Linked DNA regions of Homo sapiens: all the other regions are linked to region 3. The links are contacts of gene promoters, found by promoter capture Hi-C in blood cells and fetal thymus (Javierre and others, 2016). All regions are on one chromosome and are shown on one strand. The core of a region is centred on a gene start or on the middle of the fragment in contact, and the rest is flanking DNA. Distances in the headings are between cores, read along the strand shown.

Evidence for each region. Contacts are between HindIII fragments. The CHiCAGO score rates a contact against its expected background, and 5 or more counts as called.
Region 1: a fragment that was not itself captured here is called in contact with the fragment with the promoter of CCDC154 in region 3 in 2 of 17 cell types (naive B cells and endothelial precursors); the score reaches 6.4 in naive B cells.
Region 2: a contact is called between a fragment that was not itself captured here and the fragment with the promoter of CCDC154 in region 3, in 1 of 17 cell types (M1 macrophages). The highest score is 5.1, in M1 macrophages.

What each region holds. Positions count from the first base shown.
Region 1 is chr16:1,681,505-1,686,071 of GRCh38, forward strand. JPT2 (Jupiter microtubule associated homolog 2) reads left to right here. Exons shown (of 5, transcript NM_144570.3): 2 at 3,935-4,083. Among named protein-coding and RNA genes, the nearest start is that of JPT2, 5.5 kb to the left of the region's middle. The HindIII fragment of the contact is 382 bases long and covers 1,923-2,304 here.
Region 2 is chr16:1,571,016-1,575,794 of GRCh38, forward strand. IFT140 (intraflagellar transport 140) reads right to left here. Exons shown (of 31, transcript NM_014714.4): 14 at 392-519. Among named protein-coding and RNA genes, the nearest start is that of IFT140, 39 kb to the right of the region's middle. The HindIII fragment of the contact is 2,377 bases long and covers 408-2,784 here.
Region 3 is chr16:1,440,847-1,445,805 of GRCh38, forward strand. It overlaps CCDC154 (coiled-coil domain containing 154), which reads right to left and starts at 3,710. Exons shown (of 17, transcript NM_001143980.3): 1 at 3,470-3,710; 2 at 2,950-3,166; 3 at 2,660-2,849; 4 at 2,415-2,455; 5 at 2,034-2,129; 6 at 1,560-1,683. The coding sequence starts at 3,476. CLCN7 (chloride voltage-gated channel 7) reads right to left here. Exons shown (of 25, transcript NM_001287.6): 25 at 4,089-4,959. The HindIII fragment of the contact is 15,368 bases long and covers 1-4,959 here.

The sequences.
Region 1 (4,567 bases), core at 864-3,363, 240 kb after region 3:
TCACCTCCTGCGCCCATTGGTCCCCATTCCACATGGAGGCCACAGACTCAATTTGGGTTTCACCTCTTCCAAATTTTGGAGTCCCGATGGCACTAGGCGTCTGTCACGTCACTCACACAGACACTGAAACCACCTGTGCAGAGCTCTAGCTTTCCTGTTTAAACTTGAAGCTCCTCCGGGGTAAGGACTTGCTTTCCTCTATCTACGGCGTCTGGGGAAGGATTGCCAATGATAGGTGCTCGAGAGATGTGCAAGTTGAACTGAAGCAAGGGTGAAAGGCAGAGGAGACAGGAGACTGTGAATGTAGGGAATGTGGGGTCGGGAAAGAGTCCTACAGAGCTTGCAGTCAAGGCGAGTCTACCTGGAATCAGATCTGACAGTTTGTAGCACCTTGAGGGCTTGAGAGAAAAGCCATATTTGAAATAAGTCAGTAAAAGGAATTATAGCTCATGCTCAGCTCACATAAGACTTGATAAATTCAGTTCAGTTCGAAAGATTGCAGGCCTTCATCCCTTATTTCCAAAGAGAGAACTGTAGAGACCCGTGCATGTTTAGACCTGCTACACTATCCAAGAAAAATCGCAGAATTGGCTGGGCACAGTGGCTCACGCCTGTAATCCCAGCACTTTGGGAGGCCGAGGCGGGCGGATCACTTGAGGTCAGGAGTTTGAGACCAGCCTGGCCGACGTGGTGAAACCCCGTCTGTACTAAAAATACAAAAAAATAGCCAAGCACGGTGACGCACACCTGTAATCCCAGCTACTCGGAAGGCTGAGGCGGGAGAATTGCTTGAACCTGGGAGGTGGAGGTTGCGGTGAGCTGAGATCGCGTCACTGTATTCCAGCCTGGTAACAGAGTGAGACTCCATCTCAAAAAAATAAAATAGGCCGGACACAGTGGCTCATGCCTGTAATCCCAGCACTTTGGGAGGCTGAGGTGGGCGGATCACCTGAGGTCAGAAGTTCAAGACCAGCCTGGCCAACATGGTGAAACCCCGTCTCTACTAAAAATAGAAAAATTAGCTGGGCATGGTGGCGGGCATCTGTAATCCCAGCTACTCAGGAGCCTGAGGCAGGAGAATCGCCTGAACCCAGGAGGTGGAGATTGCAGTGAGCCGAGATTGTGCCATTGCACTCTGGCCTGGGCAACAAGAGCGAGATTTCGTCTCAAAAAAAAAAAAAAATGTAGAATTAGGAGGGCTGCGTGATTCAAAAATGGATATGGAAGTCAGATGGCCTTATGGCCACTCTAAGAGCACCTCACCTAAAATCTTGTTAAGCCACGCCCTCCCACCCACCACCCTTTATTTTTTTTCCTTTTGGTGAAACAAGTCCTCACTCTTTCGTCCAGGCTGGTGTACAGTGATGCAATCATGGTTCACTGCAGCTTTGACCTCCTGGGCTCAAGCCAGCCTTAGCCTCCCGAATAACTGGGACAACAGGCGCATACCACCACACCCAGCTAATTTTTTGTTTGTTTGTTTGTTTTTTTGAGACGGAATCTCGCTCTGTCACCCAGGCTGGAATGCAGTGGCGCATCTTGGTTCACTGCAAGCTCCGCCTCCCGGGTTCACGCCATTCTCCTGCCCCAGCCTCCTGAGTAGCTGGGACTACAGGCGTCCGCCACCACGCCCGGCTAATTTTTTGTATTTTTAGTAGAGACGGGATTTCACCGTGTTAGCCAGGATGGTCTCGATCTCCTGACCTCGTGATCCGCCCACCTCGGCCTCCCAAGGTGCTGGGATTACAGGCGTGAGCCACCACGCCTGGCCTTATTTTTGTATTTTTTGTAGAGACAGGGTCTCCCCATATGCCCAGGCGTGTCTCGAACTCCTGGGCTCAAACAGTCCTCCCACCTCGGCCTCCCAAGGTGCTGGGATTACAGGTGCCAGGTACTGCTCCCGGACAGCCCTTTCTCATTTAAGCTTGGTTATTGGTTATTTTTAAAAAATAATTTTTCTTAAGTGCACCTGTCTTTTTTTTTCTCCCTCCTCAAATCCTCCAGGAAATGGCAACTGCTGACAGGAAGTTTGGCATCCACCTCCCCCAGCCTCCTGAGTGGACAGGGGCCCTGGGCACCACTTCAGAGGTCGGCCAGCACACGCTTGGTTTCTGGGGTACAGTAGCCAGCCCGTGGGTCTCTGCAGGCGGAGACTGAAGCACTCTCTGCCTTCCTGCTTTATAGCAGGAGATCTGAGAACTCCATTCACATCCAGTCACAAGGAGCCCTCAGCGCTCTTTCTAGATCTTTTGAGGAGAAACTGTTATTTTTGTTAACCAAACCTTGAGTGGTCAGTGTTTGCAAAGCTTTCCAGTGAGATCTAACCTCATATCATAGTTTTTGTGTGATGTTGAGCCCTGTAATTTCAAGTATGGTCATCCTTGGTATCCTGCGGGAGTTGGTTCCAGGACCCCCAGGATGCCAAAATCCAAGGATGTGTAAGTCCTTGATATAAAGTGGTGTAATGTTTGCATATAACCTATGCACATCCTCCATATGCTTTTAAATCATCTCTAGGTTACAAGGTTACATATAATACCTAATACTATGCACATAGTTGTTACACCGTATCACCTGGGGAATAATGACAGAAAAGAAGTCTGTAGATGTTCAGTACAGATGCAACCATCCTTTTATTTCTGACATTTTGATCTGAGGTTGGTTGAATCCATGGAAGCAGAGCCCGTGGATACAGAGGGCTGACTTCGTTTCTAAACGTCTGGGATCACAGACAGTCCCATTGCTTAGGACTAGTGAGAGAGCATGTGCCACTCACTGGTTTAAATCTCAATTTCAGTAAGCCTCTCTCTCAAATGCATTTAAAAGTTTTTCCAGTTGTTATGAATTCAGCGTTTCACCGGTTTTTAATGTAGATAGTGCTCTAGAAATAGAGCTTTGTGGCAATTCCTTATTAGTTCTTAAGTTTAAGTTTTTACAATAAAAAGTGATTCAAGAGCCAGGTGCGATGGCCCACACCTGTAATCCCAGCACTTTGGGAGGCCGAGGCAGGTGGATCACCCCAGGTCAGGAGTTCGAGACCAACCTGACCAACATGGCGAAACCCCGTCTCTACTAAAAATACAAAATTAGCTGGGTGTGGTGGCGCATACCTGTAATCCTAGCTACGTGGGAGGCTGAGGCAGAAGAATTGCTTGAACCCAGGAGGCGGAGGTTGTGGTGAGCTGAGATTGCGCCATTGCATTCCTCCAGCCTGGGCAACAAGAGTAAAACTCCGTCTCAAAAAAAACAAACAAAAGTTAGCCAGGTGTTGTGGCAGGCACCTGTAATCTGAGCTACTCAGGAGACTGAGGCTGGAGAATCACTTGAACCCAGGAGGCAGAGGTTGCAGTGAGCTGAGATCGTGCCACTGCACTCCAGCCTGGGCGACAGAGCGAGACTCCATCTCAAAAAAAAAAAAAAAAGAATACTTTTAAGGGAAACTAAAGAGCAGCAGAAGTAGTCTGGCGTCTGTAAACTAGTCATACCAGTATTAACTAATGGTGGTATGTGATTTCTCAGTAGATGTTAAGAAAATACTTTTGCTGGGTATGGTGGCTCATACCTGTAATCACAGCACTTTGGGACGCCAAGGTGGGCAGATCACTTGAGCTTAGGGGTTCAAGACCAACTTTGGCAACATGGCAAAACCCTGTCTCTACCAAAAATACAAAAAATTAGCCAGCTGTGGTGGTGGGTGCCTGTAATCCCAGCTACTCAGGAGGCTGAGGTGGGAGGATCACTTGAGCCCAGGAGGCAGAGGTTGCAGTGAGCCAAAATCACGTCACTGCGCTCCAGCCTGGGTGACAGAATGAGACCTTGTCTCAAAAAGAAAAAAACAAAATACTTTTACCCTGTCTAGTTGTGCCAAAATCCTTGCACAGTGACAAGCTTTCAGGTCTGCCATCAGTAATTGGCATGTACTCTGTGCTTGTAGGGCCATGAAGCCCCCAGGAGGAGAATCGAGCAATCTTTTTGGAAGTCCAGAAGAAGCTACTCCTTCCAGCAGGCCTAATAGGATGGCATCTAATATTTTTGGACCAACAGAAGAACCTCAGAACATACCCAAGAGGACAAATCCCCCAGGTATGGGCCTTTGGAAATCCTTAATCCTTTGGCCTCCACGATTCTCTTTTGAAAATATTTTCTGTTTCTTTATACTGATCCTTTCCCATATTGTCTGGTTCAGGTAATCACTTGTTATCAGAGTTCTTCCAAAATGAAAACGTTCTGATTTGTACTTTCTCTCTTGAAGGTGACTTGAGTAGTCTTGAATTCTCCATCTGTTCTGGAGACTTTGGTTGAATACAGGCACTGAGGACACAAAAGTGGACGGGGGCTTCTGGTTCCTGCCAGGGAGCTGCTCCCAATTGTTCCACGGACCCCCATGAGATTCCTGAAATTGCGTGCAAATTATTGTGCATTTAAACATTTTTCCTAGGGAGGGAGAGTGTTTTTATTCAGATCGTCAGTGGGATTGAAACTCTTAACAAGGAAGAATTGATCTAGCACACATCTACATAGTTCTTCAGTATTTACCCAACCTCCTAGTGGTTACAGTAGGAGGGAC
Region 2 (4,779 bases), core at 346-2,845, 130 kb after region 3:
CAAAGTGCTGGAAATACAGGTGTGAGCTACCCTGCCCAGCCTGAATGATTTTTTAAACATTTGTATACATTAAGGTTCACACTTTGCACCATAAAGCGCTATGATTTCCAACAAATGTACAATGTCATGCACTCATCATATAGAAGCTTCCCCACCCTCACCACTCCCTGTGCTTCAACTATTCAAGCCTCCTCTCCCCGACACGGCTCCACCACCAGGCAAAGGCCAGGAACTGAGCCCCAACATGAGGCATTCGAGAGCACAAGTGGCATGTCGGTGTTAAAATGGGCACCTAAGGAGTCTTCTGGCTTCTAACTCACTTTCTACCCATCACACTGTCTCCTGACTGACTAAAAAAATGTTCACACTTCTATTTGGAAAAAAAATTTACCTTCGGGAAAGATCAAAGCTTTTAAAGTGAGCCAAGTCTGTCCCTACAACCAGGAAATTCCCACAGATGTCCAAGAAGCAGGGATTCCCCTCAGTCTCCGAGAAAAGGAGGAGTTGTTTGACAGTCCCCTGAGGAAAAGGAACAAGAAATGGATATATTTCATGTTAGTTACTGAACATTGTTCACAGATAACCTTGTACACACAAGAAATGGATATATTTCATGTGAGTTACTGAACATTGTTCACAGATAACCTTGTACACTCCACTCATTCACTCGCTCAGTGTTTACTGACGGCTCAGAGTGTGCCCAGCACTCTGCTGGACTCTAGTGCTGCGGGGGAAGGACGGGGCCCTGTCCTCAGGAGAGCTCTGGTGCCTCCAGTCTAGAGGGGAAAACAGACAGCAGTGCGGTCGACAAACAAATACATATGTAATCTCAGCTGAGTAAGTGCCATGTAGGTAAAGAATGGGATCTCAGGAAAGTGCCAGGCACGGAGAGAGGGCGAATTCCATCCACTGGGGAGCTCTGGGGGGCCCTGTCTGTGGAGGCCCTGTCATGTGAAAGCCGCAGGAATACTTGTTACGTTGTGTCACGTGAATGGTTACCCTGGGTGAGGCGGTGGGGGAGAGGAAGGATGCTAGTTACATGCTGGCAATGTCCCACCCGCGAAAAGCCCCTGCACCGTACGCTTAGGCACGACGCACCCACTCTTTCTAAGTGTGTGGGTATTTCAGTAAAATGTTTAAGAAGTCAGCCAGGTGGGCAGAGGCCACAGGGGCGTTCCTGCAGGCTGAGGGGAAGAGTGAGATTTCCTTCTAAGTGAAACTGGAAGACTGCAGGGTTTTGAGCTGGGAAGTGATTTCGCATCATTTATATTTTCAAAGCATCACCTTGGCCTTTCCAGCATGTTAGAAAGCACGTCCCACAGTCGGCACGTTAGAAAGCATGCCCCACAGGCCGGGCGCGGTGGCTCACGCCTGTAATCCCAGCACTTTGGGAGGCCAAGGCGCGTGGATCATGAGGTCAGGAGATCGAGACCATCCAGGCTAACACGGTGAAACCCCGTCTCTACTAAAAATACAAAAAATTAGCCGGGTGTGGCGGTGGGTGCCTGTAGTCCCAGCTACTCGGGAGGCTGAGGCAGGAGAATGGTGTGGACCCGGGAGGTGGAGCTTGCAGTGAGCCGAGAACATGCCACTGCACTCCAGCCTGGGCGACAGAGCAAGACTCCATCTCAAAGAAACAACAACAAAAAAGAAAGCATATACCCCACAGTCACCCCACAGTTGCGCTGGAGCAGACCTCATGCTTTGTGGTGTGTCTTTTAGGGACTAACCTTAATCCTCTGAGTTTCAAAGCGAAGCTCTTGGCTCAATTCAACCAATGCCCAGTGAATGCCTACACCCTGCCCAGCAGTGGGTTGGGGGAGGAGCATCACAAGTGAGTGGCACATCCCCAGGGCACTCCACGTGGGGGCAGCGAGTCAGATGCGAACGGCTGAATGCATCCTGGGGCCAAGACAGGCAGCAGGGAAGGCACAGATCTAGTGCATGGGAGCTGCACAGAATCTGAGTGGCAAGGCAGGCTGGAAGGTGGGCAGAGCTCCAGGAGAACTTAGTGGGCACGGAAATCTAAACACAGACTCCAAAAGCCAGCAAAGGGGCAGGAGCCTGCACAGTGTGTTTAGGAAACTGAGGGTGAGGGACGGATGGCTGGAGTCAGGGTGGGAGTATTCCAAGCTGAGGAAGCTCACTTCATTTTGATGTATCCAGTGGGAGCCTAATAAATGCTTATGGAATGAGCAAGTGGCTGCTTGAACACAGGATAAAAAGAGCAGGGGGAGCGGACTAGCTGATGGGGCCAGGGCTGACACTATTAATGATGACAGAGAGCACTGGAGGCTCCTCGGTGAGCTCACTCCCTGCCCTGCCCCTTACCTGCTGGGTCCCGGGTTCAGATCTGAGCTCAACTCTTTTACATTCTTTAACATCTCTATGTCAATACATTCCCAACTCCCAAAGTACTGTCTTCAGGGCACTGACCCAGCTCCTGACCTCCAGAGCTTGTATTTCCAACTGTCTCTTAGACACCCCTAAGGGCTCTCCAAGGCACCACGAACTCGAACTTGCATCCTGCCCTGCCCCCTATGCCAGCTCTGCCTCTGGAGTTCCTGTCTTAAAGGTGCCACGACAAACCCAACCTCTCAGGCTAGAAAACTCAGAACATCCTCAGTTCTATACTCTCTGTAGCCACCCATCATGCAACTAGTCACCCCCCTTATAAGAGCCACAGTGCCCCTCCACTCCAGCTCTGCTGGTGGCTGCTGCCTGGGGCCAGGCTGAGCTGCTCTCCTGCGGCGTCTCCCACAACTTCACTCTTCTCCACCCTTAAGCTTGGCTCCCCACTACGCTGGCACAGAAGTTACTTTCTAGGGAGAAAATAACACAAAGCCAAGAAAATAAGTCAAAATTGGGGAAAGGAAAGAACTGTTATCAGAGGAAGGTAAGTCCTTTTCAGGGATCAGGCCCCCAGAGACCTTAAATGAGGCAGCAGCCACGCCCTGCTCTCCCTTGAGCTGTGTTCTTCTCTGGAAACTGCCTGCTGCCGCCACAGGTAGCTGAGAACTAACCTGATAAGCTGCCGCAGACCATACCTGCACCAATGCTCAGCCCATTGCTAATCAATGGCATTTCCATCAACCAAAGAGGATTCCTGACCAACAACCTGACATTAGCCTGTGCCCGGTCCCTCTTTTCGGCCTTAAAAACCTGCCTGTAACAAACGTAAAATGGAGCCCAGGCCCAGTGTTCCTCGGGGCTGAGTTTTCTGGGCAGCTGCCTTTATCCTGGCTCAGGTAGACTACTCACTTAATTACTTATTTATTTTTGAGACAGTGTCTCACTCTGTTGCCCAGGCTGGAGTGTAGTTGTACAACCACAGCTCACTACAACCTCAACCTCCCTAGGCTCAGGTAATTGTCCCACCTAAGCCTCCCAAGTAGCTGGGACCATAGGTTTGCCACCATGCCTGGCTAATATTTTTGTATTTTTTTGCAGAGACGAGGTCTCACTATGTTGCCCAGGCTGGTCTGGAACTCCTGGGCTAAAGCAATCCTCCCACCTGGGCCTCCCAAAGTGCTGGGATTACCGTCATGAGCCACCATGCCCAGCCAAGTAGACTGTTTAAATCACATTTTGTGCTTCAGTCTCTTTTTGGTCAACAAAATGTACCCTGTCACTCCTAGCTTCAACCCCAACTGCCCTCAGGGTGACCAGCCCTCCTGCCTCCCTTCCCACCTCCCACCACCAACTGGTCCCATATCCCACCCCCTTCCATGGCACTTGACCTTTGCATGGGAGGCCCCTCCCTCAGGTTCTCCATGGGGCAGATGTGACTCCCTGAAACATACGCAGGGCTGGGGCCCCAAAGTTCTGGCCTAGGAAGCTGTCCTTTTAAGGACTGGAAGCTCCTAAGTGTCTGTAGTCACTGCGTCCCTGACACAAACACTAACAGCAGCCATGCATCTGCATCCTGAGGAGGGATAGTGACCTGGAAGGACATGCTGGGTGTCCAAGAAGGGTCATGAGGGATCACTAACCCACCCTTACTCACGCCAGAGCCACCTTACTAGTTACAACTGACATGTATTCCTTTTGTAACTTAATAAATTAGTGGCCAGGCATGGTGGCTCACACCTCTAATCCCAACACTTTGGGAGGCTGAGGCAGGAGGGTCACTTCAGCTTGGTTCAAGACCAGCCTGGGCAACATAGTGAGACCCCATGTCTACAAAAATATAATAATAATAATAACAAAATTAGCCAGGCATGGTGATTGGCACCTGTGGTCCCAGCTACTTGGGAGGCTGAGGCAGGAGGATGAATTGACCCCAGGAGTTTGAGGCTGCAGTGAGCTATGATGGCACCACTGCACTCTAGCCTGGGCGACAGGATGAGATCTTATCTGTAAAAAAATAAATAAAAATGAAAATAAAAAAGTAGCCAGGCATGGTGGTGCATACCTATGGTCCCACGCTCAGGAGGCTGAGGTGGGAGGATCGCTTGAGCCCAGGAGGTCAAGACTGCAGTGAGCTATGATTGCCACTGCAGTGCAGCCTGGGCAACAAAGTGAGACCCTGTTTCTGAAAATAAAATAAAATAAAAAATTAACAGAGGAATAAAAGGACCCAACTCCATGGCAACTGTTGTTAGGTATCTTCCCAAGCTCTACAAGTAGGACTTCTCAGTGGGCCCACTGTTATTTCCCATCATGCCACTAGTGTTCTCCCAGCAGGCCATTCACCCTTTCCCATCATGCCACTGGCCTCTCCCAGCAGGCCATTCACCCTTTCCCATCACACCACTGACCCTCTCCTAGCAGGCCATT
Region 3 (4,959 bases), core at 2,460-4,959:
AAGCTGAGGCAGGAGAATGGTGTGAACGTGGGAGGCGGAGCTTGTAGTGAGCCGAGATCGTGCCACTGCACTCCAGCCCAGGCAACAGAGGGAGACTCCGTCTTAAAAAAAAAAAAAAAAAAATTAGCCAGGCATGGTGGCATGCGCCCGCAGTCACAGCTACTGGGAAGGCTAAGGCAAGAGGATCACTTGAGCCTGGGGGGTTGAGGCTGCAGTGAGCTGTGATGGCACCACCACGCTCCAGCCTGAACAACCAGGCAATACCCTGTCTCAAAACAAAAAACGAGTGTCGGCCTGGCTTTGCTGCCTCTGGCCCTAGAGAGCACTCAGACACCCGGACTCAGGGAAAGGCAGACGCCCTCATGAGCGGCAGCTCCCCCACACCTGGCACCTTGGGAATCCTCAGCCCAGCACCCCTGCCTGCTCCACACGGCCACTCAGTAACTTCCTGAAGGGCAGTGAGAGGGAGGCTGCCGGCTCCGGGCAGTGGAGCTATGTGGGTGGCAGCTGGGTGCCCCGGCAGTCCTGGCCCCTCACCCAGCGTACTGCCTGATGCGCACGGGAGCTGGCTGCAGTCCCCGGTCTCTATTTGTGGAGCTCAGACCCGGGCTGCTGAAATGTGCAGCTGCCCGTTCCCTCCCCACCCACAGCGGAGGCCCCTGCTGAGGCCACAGCAGGAGGGGGAGCCACTCCAGCCCCGTGGGTGGGACCCTGGCTTCTAGGAACTCGTGTCCTCGAGGAAGGTGAACTCCGCTTTGTGTGCAGGGAAAGGTGGAGCCCGAGAGTGGCCGTGGAAGGGGCTTCGGGGCTGCGATCTGTGGACCCGGGCAGGCGCTGGCTGTGTGGGGAGGGGTGGAGGCGGCAGGACACAGGCAGCTTCCTGGGACGAAGAGCGCCCAGATCTGCAGCTGCCGGCCCCACGTGGCAACTGAGCTTTTTTTTGAGATGAGGTCTCGCTGTGTTGCCCAGGCTGGTCTTGACTTCCCAGGCTCAAGCGATCCTCCCGCCTCGGCCTCCCAAAAGTGCTGGGATTTACAGGCGTGTGCCACTGCACGTGGCCTGAGCTTTTGTTTTTTTGTTTTGTTTTGTTTTTTGAAATGGAGTCTCACTCTGTCACCAGGCTGGAGTGGCGCGATCTCAGCTCACTGTGACCTCCTCCTGCTGGATTCAAGCAATCCTCCTGCCTCAGCCTCCTCAGTAGCTGAGGCTACAGGTGCCCGCCACCACACCTGGCTAGTTTTTTGTATTTTTAGTAGAGATGGGGTTTCACCATGTTGGCCAGGCTGGTCTTGAACTCCTGACCTTGTGATCTGCCCGCCTCAGCCTCCCAAAGTGCTGGGATTACAGGCGTGAGCCACCGTGCCCAAACAACCTGAACTTTTGAAATGGGGCATGTGCGGCTGAGGAATTGAGTTTTACATTGTCTACAACTATAGCTGATTTCAGTGGACACAGATACATGGTGAACGGCCGCTGTATCGGATGGCACAGGCCGAGAGGGTTAGGGTCTCCTCCTCGGCCCTCTGGGCGGCCCCCCTGAAGCCTGGGCCTGGTGGTACCTGCATTCTGGCCACCTCCAGGTCCACCCTCCGGCTGCTGTCCTCTTGGTTCTTCTGCAGGGCGCCGCAGGCCACCTCCCGGCCCTGCTCCTCCTGCTGCAGCAAGTCGGTCAGCTTGGCCAGTCTAGAGAAGTCGGCTGTGGTCACACCAGCCCAGCTGGCCGGAGGGCCCAGCAGGGTGAGGCTGACCCACAGGCTGGCCAGGCAGGAGGTGTACGACCCCCGCCCCCTGCCCCACCAGAAAACAGAGGAATGGGAAACACAGCACCGGTGGCAGGGAAGGGCTGCTGCGAGTCTCTTCCCCACAGAGGGTCCGCAGCGGGCCCAGGCTTCCCAGCACGCTTGGCACCGAGGGCGGTGCCCCGCCGGGTTACTGGGGACACACGGCAGGGGGACCCGTGTCTTGGCTCAGCCAGGGACTCTCAAATGACCCCACGCAAGCTCCGGAGCCAGCCACGGGCGGTGGGCGCCCACCTGAGGCCGGCCTCTTGCTCGGCGCCCCTTCTCTCCGCCTCCTGTTGCACCTGCCTCCTCCTGAGCCGGGTCAAGGCTTCCCGGACCTCCACCAGCCTGGGACACAACAAGCCATTCCCGAGAGGCCCAGGCGGGCTGAGCAGCCTCGGCGGGCTGGGGGTCTGGCCAAGGGGCCCCTGTGGCCACCTCCCATGGCTTTCCTGGGCCTCTGAAGGCCGCCCAGGCACGTACAAACCCGGCCTTTTCTAGCTGGACCTGGATGTGTATCCCCCACTCCAGCGACACCCAGCGGGAGATGTGGACCCCCCACCACACCTGCCGCTGCTTTCTCGCCACCACCTCCCCGCCCTGGGCCTGTGCCCCTAGGTGTGTGGGGGGTACCTTTTGTCCAGGGCCTGCATCTGGTTCTGGAGACCAGAGAACTGCGAGGAGGAAGAGGAGGCTGTGGGCTGGACCTAGGCCCGGGTCTGGCACCTGCCCCTGGAGTCCACCCAGCTCCGGCACCACTGGCCCCTGGGAGCTCTGGGCCTGGGCAGCAGGGGTGAGCTGGGCTCCAGGCCCAGAAGCAGCTGCCCCCAACACCCAGGAAAGGGGCAGCTCGACCTGTGGGTGGGGGAGCCGCTCACCTCCGGCGCCTCCTTTTCGGGGGCCTGGGCTGCCGGCCGCGCCTCCTGCTGCAACTGCCTCAGCTCTGAGCCCTGCAGCTGCACGCGGGCCCGCACCTGGAGCAGCTCCCGCAGCAGGCTCCGCGTGGCGCGCTCACAGCGCTGCTTGTGCTCCCGCAGGCAGGCCACCTCGGCCTGCAGCTCCACCACCCTGGCCGGGGCGAGAGTGGGCGAGTCTGGCGGTGCCCGCCGTGGAGGCGGAGGCGGCGGCGACGTGGTCCTCCCCCGCCAGCACCCCCTGCAGGGCTCACCACTGCTCCAGCTGGTTCCAGTGCTTGGCGGTGTCCTGCTCGGGGACAGAGGCCGTGGATGTCGGATGGCTGGACTCATACCTCTCCGAGAGCTCCTCCAGGCTCAAGGGCTCGGGGCTGGCCAGGCCTCCTGCCAGGAGGAGCCCCAGGTCTTCCAGGGTGACGGCTCTCAGCTGGGAAGGGGCCGATGCCCCTGAGGGTCCACTGTCAGCCAACTCTACAAGGAGGCATCTTGGGAGCTTGCCCCTTGGGGCCCGGCCCCCACTGGAGCTTACGGGAACAAGGCCCCAAACCCCCGCAGGACCCTCGCCCACCACCCAGAGCTCAACGCGTCTCCTTGGGTCACACAGGATCCAGACGGGCTTGGCTCAGACAAGTCCAGGGCCCTGCCTGAAGACACACAGCACTGGGCGGCAGGAACAAGCGAGCTGGAGGGAGCCCGGGGTCAGAAGCAGAGCGGTCCCCACCCTCACACCTGTGGCAAGCCCCTCCCTGGGCCCCGCTCCTCCGCTCTGGTCACCTGACATGGCTGCTGGGCTGCACCGGCCACCCTGCCCTCGGCTGTAGCTTGGGCCTTGGGGCCTCTGAGGTTGCCCAGAGCTGGGCACAGGCCAGGGGGGTCAGGAGCCAGAGGAAGTCCCGTGAGAGCTCTGGGCCTTGAGGGACGAGCTGCTGCCCTCGTCTGGCTGCCTTCTCAGGGTCCCCAGGGAGGCAGGTGTGGGGCAGCGGGGCCGTTCCAGAACCTTCCTTCTCTCCCCAGAACCTCACGGCTTCACAGCCCAACTGCCAATGGAACTCTAGCCCTCAGCTCTCCCACTCCCGCAGGGCCCCCCAACTGCCTGCTTCTGGATGGATCTGAGGGGCCCCACTCCCGAGAGGGCGCAGACACGTGTCCTCTGGCAAAGGGGACTTCTTCAGCTGCCGAGGGAGGGGAAGGAGGCCCTGACGAGGCCTGGGCACGCCGGGAGGGACGCTGGGAGCAGGGAGGCCGAGAGCCCCAGGACACCCCGGACACAGCCAGGCCCACGTCCGAGCGGAGCCCGAGGCCTGGGCAGCGCCATCGGGGTGAGGGGCACAGCCGGGCTCCACGGGAACCCATCTTGCTCAGCAGCCCCATTAAAAGGCAAGAAGCAGCGATGTGAATCCTAACCGCTGATTTTATTTAACCGAATATATCCAAAATATGATCACTTCCAGGTCCTCAGTACACAACCACCACGAGGGAAACCCAGACCTAGGTTTCCGGCGCCGACTCTGAGGCCCGGGAGTTTTCTTCTTGCGTCACCCCAGCGTGGGCACCCCGGCCCGCCCCCCTCCACCTGGAGCGCCTCTGCCTTGCCCCCAGACCCACCAGCCAGGAGCCAGAGGAGGGAGGCTGAGGGGCGGGGACGAGGAAGAGGATGTGGCTGGTGCCCTGGGTGGCCGCAGCCGCTGTCTTTCACGCCTTTCTCACTCCACACGGTGCCCCGACCCCAGGGTCCCGAAAGTCCCAGGCTGTTGGACGTGGTCTGGGTGGGGTGGGAGGGACGACGCTGGCAAAGGCGGGCTGAGAGGATTTCTTTATTTCGCGTTCAGACCCAACACACTCGGACACCTTGGGGCCCTGTGAGGGCTAAGCAGGGTGGTGGCGTCAGCTCCCGGGGAGGCCCCACTCCCTGGGGAGGAAATACACGGCAGGGGGCCGCACCCAGCCCCCCACGGAGGGACCCGTGTTGCTCTAACAGGGACACTGAAGTTGCCTCTGCCGCCCCGTGAGGGGCCTGTGGCGGCCCCAGACCCAGCCCAGCCAGGCCAGAGGAGCCTCCCAGGGGCCCTCAGGTGGTGAGGTGGGGGCTTCCCGGCCCCGGTGCCCACCGGCCCTTCTAGCTGCCTGTGCTGGGCCAGGTGTCCTCTGAGGCCGGCAGGAGTCTGGCCCCCGCTGCACCTGCGCTTGGTGGCTGGCAGGGGCGGGGTAGGGAGGTCACCCTCGAGGCCGGGGTCCCCATGTGCTAGGGGAAGACCTGCCTTCCC